Linked DNA regions of Homo sapiens: region 2 is linked to region 1. The links are contacts of gene promoters, found by promoter capture Hi-C in blood cells and fetal thymus (Javierre and others, 2016). All regions are on one chromosome and are shown on one strand. The core of a region is centred on a gene start or on the middle of the fragment in contact, and the rest is flanking DNA. Distances in the headings are between cores, read along the strand shown.

What was found. Contacts are between HindIII fragments. The CHiCAGO score rates a contact against its expected background, and 5 or more counts as called.
Region 2: a contact is called between a fragment that was not itself captured here and the fragment with the promoter of TACR1 in region 1, in 2 of 17 cell types (megakaryocytes and erythroblasts). The highest score is 5.9, in megakaryocytes.

What each region holds. Positions count from the first base shown.
Region 1 is chr2:75,197,639-75,201,995 of GRCh38, reverse strand. It overlaps TACR1 (tachykinin receptor 1), which reads left to right and starts at 2,476. Exons shown (of 5, transcript NM_001058.4): 1 at 2,476-3,450. The coding sequence starts at 3,062. The region is part of intron 2 of TACR1-AS1 (TACR1 antisense RNA 1); the gene reads right to left. The HindIII fragment of the contact is 965 bases long and covers 1,872-2,836 here.
Region 2 is chr2:75,547,229-75,551,585 of GRCh38, reverse strand. All of the region lies in intron 1 of EVA1A (eva-1 homolog A, regulator of programmed cell death), which reads left to right. Among named protein-coding and RNA genes, the nearest start is that of EVA1A, 12 kb to the left of the region's middle. The HindIII fragment of the contact is 1,396 bases long and covers 1,594-2,989 here.

The DNA.
Region 1 (4,357 bases), core at 1,227-3,726:
GGGCTAGGCAGGATGGAGGCAGGGAGAGAAGGCGGGCTGACCTGCGCTCCAGTCCCTATGCAAACCTGGAAGGTGAGCAGGGAGAAGAACCCCTGATGCCACCCAGGGCCCCGCTCTGACCTGCAGGCTCATAGGTGGGCAGTCATTATGGGACTTTAAGCAGAGTGACAAGGTTTGATTTATAAAACTTCAGCCTGAAATATTCGCCTTTTTTCCACCCTCAACCTCTTCCCATCCTAACTCATTCTTCAGGCTTCTTCATGGATGAGATTTTCTTCCATCTGTACGGATACCCCTCATTGTTTAGGTTAGGTGGCCTCCCTCTTCTCTCCTCACTCAGGGCTTAGTACCTTTGGTCATCATAATACCGCCCATTTTGTATGGTTCATTGCTTCTTGTTTGTCTTCCTCCATACTGTAAGTGCTTGTTCACCCCCCAGCCCCAGTGCCCAGCACAGTACCTGCTTCAAAATATCAACTTGCTGTACTAATGGAGGATAAATGGATTAATGTTTACTTTTTAGCTATTTCATATTTATTTTATATTTAGCTCTTATTACATATTTAGATTTTATTCGATTAGCTTTCTTTTTCTCCCTTAACCACTGAATAAAGTTCCTTTTGAAAACGTCAGCCTGGCTCTAATGGACAGGGAGAAAAAAGAAAAGATAACTTTAAACAGCTTGGAAGGAAAATTAAAGATAGAGAAGTTTCCCCTCCCCCCTCCCCCACCCTCCGCATCCCCTTCCCTCTCCCTTTTCCTCCCTCTCTCTGTCAGCTCTTTGAGATGGTGGAAGCCTCAAGCAGAGATCCAAGGTGGAGGAGGCATTCCCTTCCACAAAGAAGACCTCTTGTGCAGCCGCTCTAAATAAAGGGACGCTGTTCTCTTGAAAGCATCTCTAGAGTTTTCTATGCAGTGTGTTTACGGGTGCCTAGGAGAACCTGGCAAAGCAATGTGCGGTTCCTATATACGCTAAAATCCCAGGCTCCGAAAAAATACAGAGTGAAACAGCAGATTCTCCTCCCCGGCGTGGGATCCAATTTTTGCCCGGCATAAGTGTATAGTAAATTTCCCAGCCTTAAAGCACTTCCCGAGAGATGCTTTGAGCGCTCGCGGTACCAGTGCGTAAACGCCGCTCCCCGGCTGGCGCGGGTGTGCGCCAACTCCAACCTGCGCGCAAGTCTGCCGGTGCGCGCTCCAGTCCCACAGCTCCGAGTCCCCGCAGTGAAAGGAGGGGGCGGTGCACCGGGGTAGATGGGCCCCTGAGGACTCCCGGGGTTCAGTTTTCCGCGGAACTCTGCCTGCAGCAGTCTGGCGGGAACGTGCTGCGGAGCTCATCCCATCTTGGCTTCTCCAAAAGGGTTTATACGGACTGGCGAGTCTTTGCCCTGCCTCCTCCAAGTGTCTGGCACCAGTTCTACCGTTTGAAATGGTCTTGGACTGGGATACGAGGCCTCAAAGTCAGAAGACGGCAGGGCAGGATGGAGGCGGGCAGAGAAGGCTGGCTGACCTGTCCTCCAGCCCCTATGCAAACCTGGAAGGGGAACAGGGAGAAGGACCACCGATGCCACCCCGAGCCCGGCTCTGGCCTGCAGGCTTGGCAGGCGCGGAGGCGGAGGCTGCCAGGTCCCCGGGAGGCAAACGCAGCGCCGCAGTGATTGCTGGCGGAGAGCCCAGAGCCGCGCGTCTGAGCGACAAGCTGCCTATGAGTGTGGCTCCTGCGCTCACCAAGATTCGCAGGGAGCTCAGCCCTGTCCCCAGTGATTGAGCAGAGGCTCATCCAGAGGGGTCAGGTGGAGGGCTCAAATGGAGCTTCTCCTGGAACGAGGGGCCAAGTCACCAGGGTGGCTGAGGAAAGTGTCCTCAAAGCTTAGAGACTGTCACTTCCCAGGTGAATCAGCTAGCCAGGTAACTGAGCTAGATATTTTGTGGGGGTGTTTCCTAAACACAGCCTCAGGAAAGTTGTTTTCGGGACACCTGGACCAGGGAGTCGTCGCCTCTGGCTTCTCGGTAGCTGGAGCGCGGCCCGGAGCGCGGCGCTGGCACATCGCCCCCACACATGACCGTTTCCCATTGCCACAGGCAAGCCGCCTCTGCAGAGCTGTCTCAGGGCTCTGGGCTTCATTCCCTGGAAGTTGATTGTCCTCCACTCCAGCTGTTTCCCAAATCCTTCCTTCCTCCCAGCACCCCTCGTGCAACGACGATTCCAGCTGCGGACCGCATCTGTGTCAGTTACTTCCAAGCCACCTACTGCCCCCTCGCGGAGTGCGTGGGGCTCCCGGCTCGCAGACTCCCACGGCAAGTAGCAAGCAGCAAAAGGCGTGGTAGCTGCGGCGGTGGAATGAGACAGTTGTCAACAGCTGGCGCAGCTGCCGCGCTGCGCACCGGGACTGGCGAGTACGCAGCCCAGGTACTGCCCCTTCCCAGTGACGTCTCTGCAGGGGGTTATAAAAGCCTCGTGCGCAGCTAACTCGCGAGCTGAGCAACCCGAACCGAGAGGTGCCCGCGAAACTGCAGGCGGCGGCAGCGGCAGCAAAAGAGAAGGAAAAATCTCCAGCTGGATACGAAGCTCCAGAATCCTGGCCATAGGCTCAGAACTTTTACAGGTCGCGCTGCAATGGGCCCCCACTTCGCTCCTAAGTCCTCACGCAGCACAGGGCTTTGCCTTTCCCTGCGGAGGAAGGAGAAATAGGAGTTGCAGGCAGCAGCAGGTGCATAAATGCGGGGGATCTCTTGCTTCCTAGAACTGTGACCGGTGGAATTTCTTTCCCTTTTTCAGTTTACCGCAAGAGAGATGCTGTCTCCAGACTTCTGAACTCAAACGTCTCCTGAAGCTTGAAAGTGGAGGAATTCAGAGCCACCGCGGGCAGGCGGGCAGTGCATCCAGAAGCGTTTATATTCTGAGCGCCAGTTCAGCTTTCAAAAAGAGTGCTGCCCAGAAAAAGCCTTCCACCCTCCTGTCTGGCTTTAGAAGGACCCTGAGCCCCAGGCGCCAGCCACAGGACTCTGCTGCAGAGGGGGGTTGTGTACAGATAGTAGGGCTTTACCGCCTAGCTTCGAAATGGATAACGTCCTCCCGGTGGACTCAGACCTCTCCCCAAACATCTCCACTAACACCTCGGAACCCAATCAGTTCGTGCAACCAGCCTGGCAAATTGTCCTTTGGGCAGCTGCCTACACGGTCATTGTGGTGACCTCTGTGGTGGGCAACGTGGTAGTGATGTGGATCATCTTAGCCCACAAAAGAATGAGGACAGTGACGAACTATTTTCTGGTGAACCTGGCCTTCGCGGAGGCCTCCATGGCTGCATTCAATACAGTGGTGAACTTCACCTATGCTGTCCACAACGAATGGTACTACGGCCTGTTCTACTGCAAGTTCCACAACTTCTTTCCCATCGCCGCTGTCTTCGCCAGTATCTACTCCATGACGGCTGTGGCCTTTGATAGGTGAGATTAGCCTTTGTGAAAAGGCGAGAAAGTGCTCATAGAGGACCACGGCATTGCTGTGAGGTTTGGAACTGGGTGGGGTATGGGTCAAGTGGAAGATTGGCCACTCTGAGGGTTTTTTTACTGATCAACTGAGTCATTTGTTGATGGGGAACTTCATCTTATGTATTTCAACTTTTTTTCCTCTTTTTTACCCATCACTCTCTCTCTTCCTTTCAACACACATCCCCCTTTTCTTCATTTAACTCCCCTTTCTTCATCTCTTCTCCACTCATCTTCCTGACACTTTCAACTTCTGCTTTGCTCCTTTCCATATATTCCTTCTCCCCTTTACCCTTGCAGGCTGCAAACAATACCTAGGGTTTGGTCAAAGGACTAGACCCTGGAAGGGGCTTTGTAAATTCCTCCAGGCCTGTTTTTCTGTCAGACAGCCTCTTGTTGCCTTCCTGTTTTAAGTACACCTAGAGGATTCTGGGACTTTCTGCTCCCACTGCAACTCTCCAGTTTGTTGTTGTAGTTGTTGTTGTTGTTTGGTTGGTTGGTTCGTTGGTTTGTGTTTGTTTGTTTGTTTGTTTTGGATGTGAAAGAGCATTTCATCAGTATCATAAGATACTCAGAATTCTAATGCAGTTTACTCTGTAATGCTAGGAATTCTCATTCAGGAATGAGAGACAGTTATGCTATCCTTAAGAAACTCCACGGATAGGGATCCAGGAAGCTTACCCAAGAGGTGTTCTAAATTTCTCCTGCAATGTAAAATGTATGTATTTAGCCTGTCTCTATCCACAGAGAAACATGCTTGGCAAAGGCATTTGAGAGCTCTTCTGTTCCGGCAACCAACAGGTTAGGGTTCCCAAAGCTGACTGAAAGTGAAAAGGTTGGCATTTCAAACACTGGGGATGGTATT
Region 2 (4,357 bases), core at 1,042-3,541, 350 kb before region 1:
TTCCGAGAGTGGCAGTACTAGGGCACAACACTGACCTCAGGGAAGGAAGGAGAGAACCCAGTGAAGTCAACAGGGAAGGGGATGTGCAGAAAGGCAGGAGGAAATGGGAGACTGGGATGCGGAAGAGGAGAGTTTCCAGGAGAGGGGGATCAACAGCTTCAAATGATATGGAAGAATGAGAGATCTGAAATGTTCACGGATTTGGAAATTCCAAAGCTATTGACGACTTGGTGAGAGGAGTCTAACAGATGAGGGGAGTCTAACAGATGAGGGGAGCTAATGAACAAATGTGAGGTGAGGAAGTGGACATACCAAACTTTAGCAATTGTTTTTAGAGGCTTGTCTATGAAAGTAACATGCAAGAAAAGACAGCAGCTAGAGGTATTAGGTAGAGACAGTGTTTTAAAGATGGAAAAGACCAGCACGTTTTTTTTGGTTTTTTTTGTTTTGTTTTGTTTTGTTTTTGAGCAGAGTCTTGCTCTGTCGCCCAGGCTGGAATGTGTGGTGCGATCTTGGCTCACTGCAACCTCTGCCTCCTGGGTTCAAGTGACTCTCCTGCCTCAGCATCCCAAGTAGCTGGGATTACAGACACACACTACTATGCCTGGCTAATTTTTTGTATTTTTAGTAAAGACAGCATTTCACCATGCTGGCCAGGCTGGTCTCGAACTCCTGACTTCGTGATCTGCCCTCCTTGGCCTCCCAAAGTGCTGGGATTACAGGCGTGAGCCACCGTGCCTGCCCGACCAGCACATATTATAGAGTGGTCACAAATGGACTATGCACGCTGGGAGAGGTGTCTCCATGTTTGCTTCTCTTTTCCACACAGATTTCTAATATTTCTCTTCATATTCTGGATGGCTTCCATGTTGATAGTTGGATATCATTAAAGAAATTCTGGACAGGTGTTTCAGGTCTTCAGCTTTTATTAGATGGAGCAGAGAAAATGTCTTTCACAATGCCCAGTGGTGACTTATCACTTGTTGTTAAGTCCAGACCATGTCAAATTCAGGTGCGTTCAGTATATCACCCACTCAATTTGCCTTCAAAGTATTCCTCAATAGAGCATGATGTACTGAAGCTCCACTTCAGGCATGGGGAATTGGCATCTGCTGTGTAGATACTTGGAGGTAAGGATGGCAACAGCACCAAGGTTTCAGGAGGAAGGAAGAGGACCTAGACCATAGTGGGGTTATGGGGAGGAGACACCAGCTTTGGACTGGAGAAGAGACACCTGCTTCTCTGAGCAAAGGGAAAGGTAGTTGGGGATGAAGGCAAATATATGAGAGGAGACAGAGAGTTGTTTAGACCTTGTAGGAAATGAAAGGTCCATTATAAGATTTGCTGGAGTGACAACCCTCTGCTTGGAATGACCCTAGAGGATTTGACCACTGCCATTTAAAGTTCTTAATAATGGAAAAATAGGGGCATTTCCTGTGAATTCTTTGTTACCAGGTTTAGAGACTGCATCCCAGAGCCTCCCAGAAGCCATCCCAGAAGATGTTTTTATCTAGGGGCAAAGACAATCTCTGTTTTCATACTTAAGATTCTTTTGTTCAGACCAGAGGCAGATACCATAGAGGGTTAAAAGCTTGACTTAAACAAGAAATTCAGCTTTGCCTTGGTTCATGTTCATGATGCTGACATCCCTGAGGCTCAGGGCTGGAATTAGAATTTGGCTGCCAACTTCAAATATTTGCTTTGGTTGAAATGGCATCTTTGCTCTTCTTGGAAACATCTCAGTGAAATGCACACACCTTCACAGAGGGCCTTTATGGAAAGGGCTCTCCCAAAGGGCACCATCCTGAATCCAAAAGGCCACACGGGAAATGGCCTTGGGGTATTTTTCTTTCCCCACACAAAGCAGCAGCTCAGCTGAATTATTTGTTTGATCTTGAGCCTTCAGGTATCAGGAAAAGTAAACAGTACATCATTCAAGAGTCACATTTCCAGCTTGAAGGTTCCCTGGAGGACAGCTTGAAGGTACTGGAGGACACTGTAGGAGGCAAGGAAGGATCATCCCTGCCGGACCCCTCCCCACTCTCCTCCCAGCCAGGTCTCTCACCTGGATGTGGGCATGTGCAGAGTCCCTTTGGCTGGGTGTGGGTGTGATGGACAGACAGGGCACTCTCCTTAGGGACTCTTTCTTCCATCAGAGGGAAGAAGCTGCAGGTGTTTTGCCCCACTTTTCCTCAGTAGACAAAGAGTGGTGGAAGTGCTTCCCCAGGAAGGTGTGGCTGGGATGCTGTGTGGCTCCGCACAAATGTGGTTCGGTGAAGTTACATAATCCCATACTTGGCTTTATTCCTATTCCACAGGGTCTGAATTTTCTGTCATGAAAAAGTCCTATGTACATGTTCCACACTGATTCCCACAAATGAGTGCACAGGGCTGTATACATGTGTCAGATATCCACATCTAAGCTATCACTGGTGCTTCTGCCCATCCAACCTTCTGGATTGTGGCAGGGTGCAAAAGGGTTTGGGAGGCAGTACACTGTGTGCCCATAAAGCAACAGCTGTGATACCTTAGATTCTCTTTCATTTGTATTTGATTTATTAGTAAAAAAAAAAAAAATATATATATATATATATATATATATTTTTCATTTAGCCAGTCATCAGTTCATTTAATAATTTGAACAACTATGTGGCTGGCTCAAGGCTAGATGATGGTAAAGTGATGGTGATTCTGACAGTCTTAGTTCCTGCCTTCTGGGGGCTCACAGTTATTACGGGATGGGCATTCAAGAAGTAAATACACAGATAAAATACATGATGATTATAAACTGGTAACTGCTATCCTGGACAAGAACAGGGTGCTCTAGGAGGGAATGAGAGAGGTTTAGGTTGGGGGTGTCCAGTAAAGGAGAAAGATCTGTAGGCGCATATTCATTCTTTACAACATGCTGTCTATTGAAGGGATGTCACAGGGTGCTAAGGGAACTCTAAGGAAGGAGTGCCTGACCCTTGAATAGGGCTGAAAAGCTTCGGAGGGAAGGGACATTTAAACATAATCTTAAAGAATATGTGAAATTTTTTCATGTGGAAAGGGAGTAGAGATGTTACAGGTGGAGGCAACACGTGGTGTTTGGGGGGACTCTTAATCAGCAAGAGTGGGACATAGGGGAGTGGCAAGAAATGAGCAAGGAGGCCAGGCAGGGTGGCTCACACCTATAATCTCAGCACTGTGGGAGGTCAAGGCAGGCAGATTGCTTGAGCCCAGGAGTTCAGCACCAGCCAGGCCAACATGGCAAAACCTCATCTCTACCAAAAATACAAAAATATTAGCCAGGCATGGTGATGTGAGCCTGTAATTCTAGCTGTTTGGGAGGCTGAAGTGGGAGAATCCCTTGAGCACAGGAAGTGGAGCTGGCAGTGAGCCAAGATCACGCTTCTGCATTATAGCCTGAGTGACAGAATGAGACCCTGTCTCAAAAATAAATAAATAAAAGAGAAATGAGCTAGGAAAGACAGGCAAGGGCCAACTACTCAATGTAGGTTTTTTATGAGAGGCAAGTCACTGAAGGGAATGGCAACTTACCCAGGGCCTGGCAGACTTTTTCTGTAAAGGATCAGATAGTAAGTATTCTAAGCTTTGTGGACCTACAGTCTGTCATAGCTATTCAGCTCTGCCACTATGGTGCAAAAGGAGCCACAGACAATATGCAAATGAGTGAGTGAGTGTGGCTATGTGATAGTAAAACTTTATAAACAAAAACAGGCAGTGGGCTGGATTTACCCATGAGCAGTAGTTTACCAGCCCCTGCTCTAGAGTGATAATGCTGGTGGGTGACTCTGTGAATGCTGAATTGGAGGATGGGGAGAGAATGGAGGTAGGGAGCCAGTTAGGAGCTATTGCTTTAATTCAGGGAACTTAAGGAAGGGACGATGGGGAGAAATGGTTTGTGGTGTGCTCCAAAGTGAAAATGACAGGACTGCAGACCAATTTGATGAGAACATGTCTAGTTGTTTCTTTAATGCTCAGTGGACTGATTCTTCCAGAGAAGGAAAAAAAAGTCTTGGGTATTCTGGGTGTGTGACTCAGAATCATGCGCACATCTGGGAGGTCACCTGCTGGTCACTAGACATCGTGCTTGGTGCATTACATAGATTATCTCCTTGTTAAGCATAATTCTTAAGAATTCTTTAGAATGTTAAGTTGTATTTCCTATTTCAAACTGAAGTTTGAAAATTGCAAGTCATTTGCCTAAAGCTGTATCGCTGGTAAATGGAGCTAAGATTTAACCCAGGTCTGGTGTCAAAGCCTGTACCATTCCTGAGATGCAGAATCTTTTCTCCTCACCCGGTGGGTGGCATGAAGCTCCATCCATGAACCTGTGCAGCTCCATTCTTTC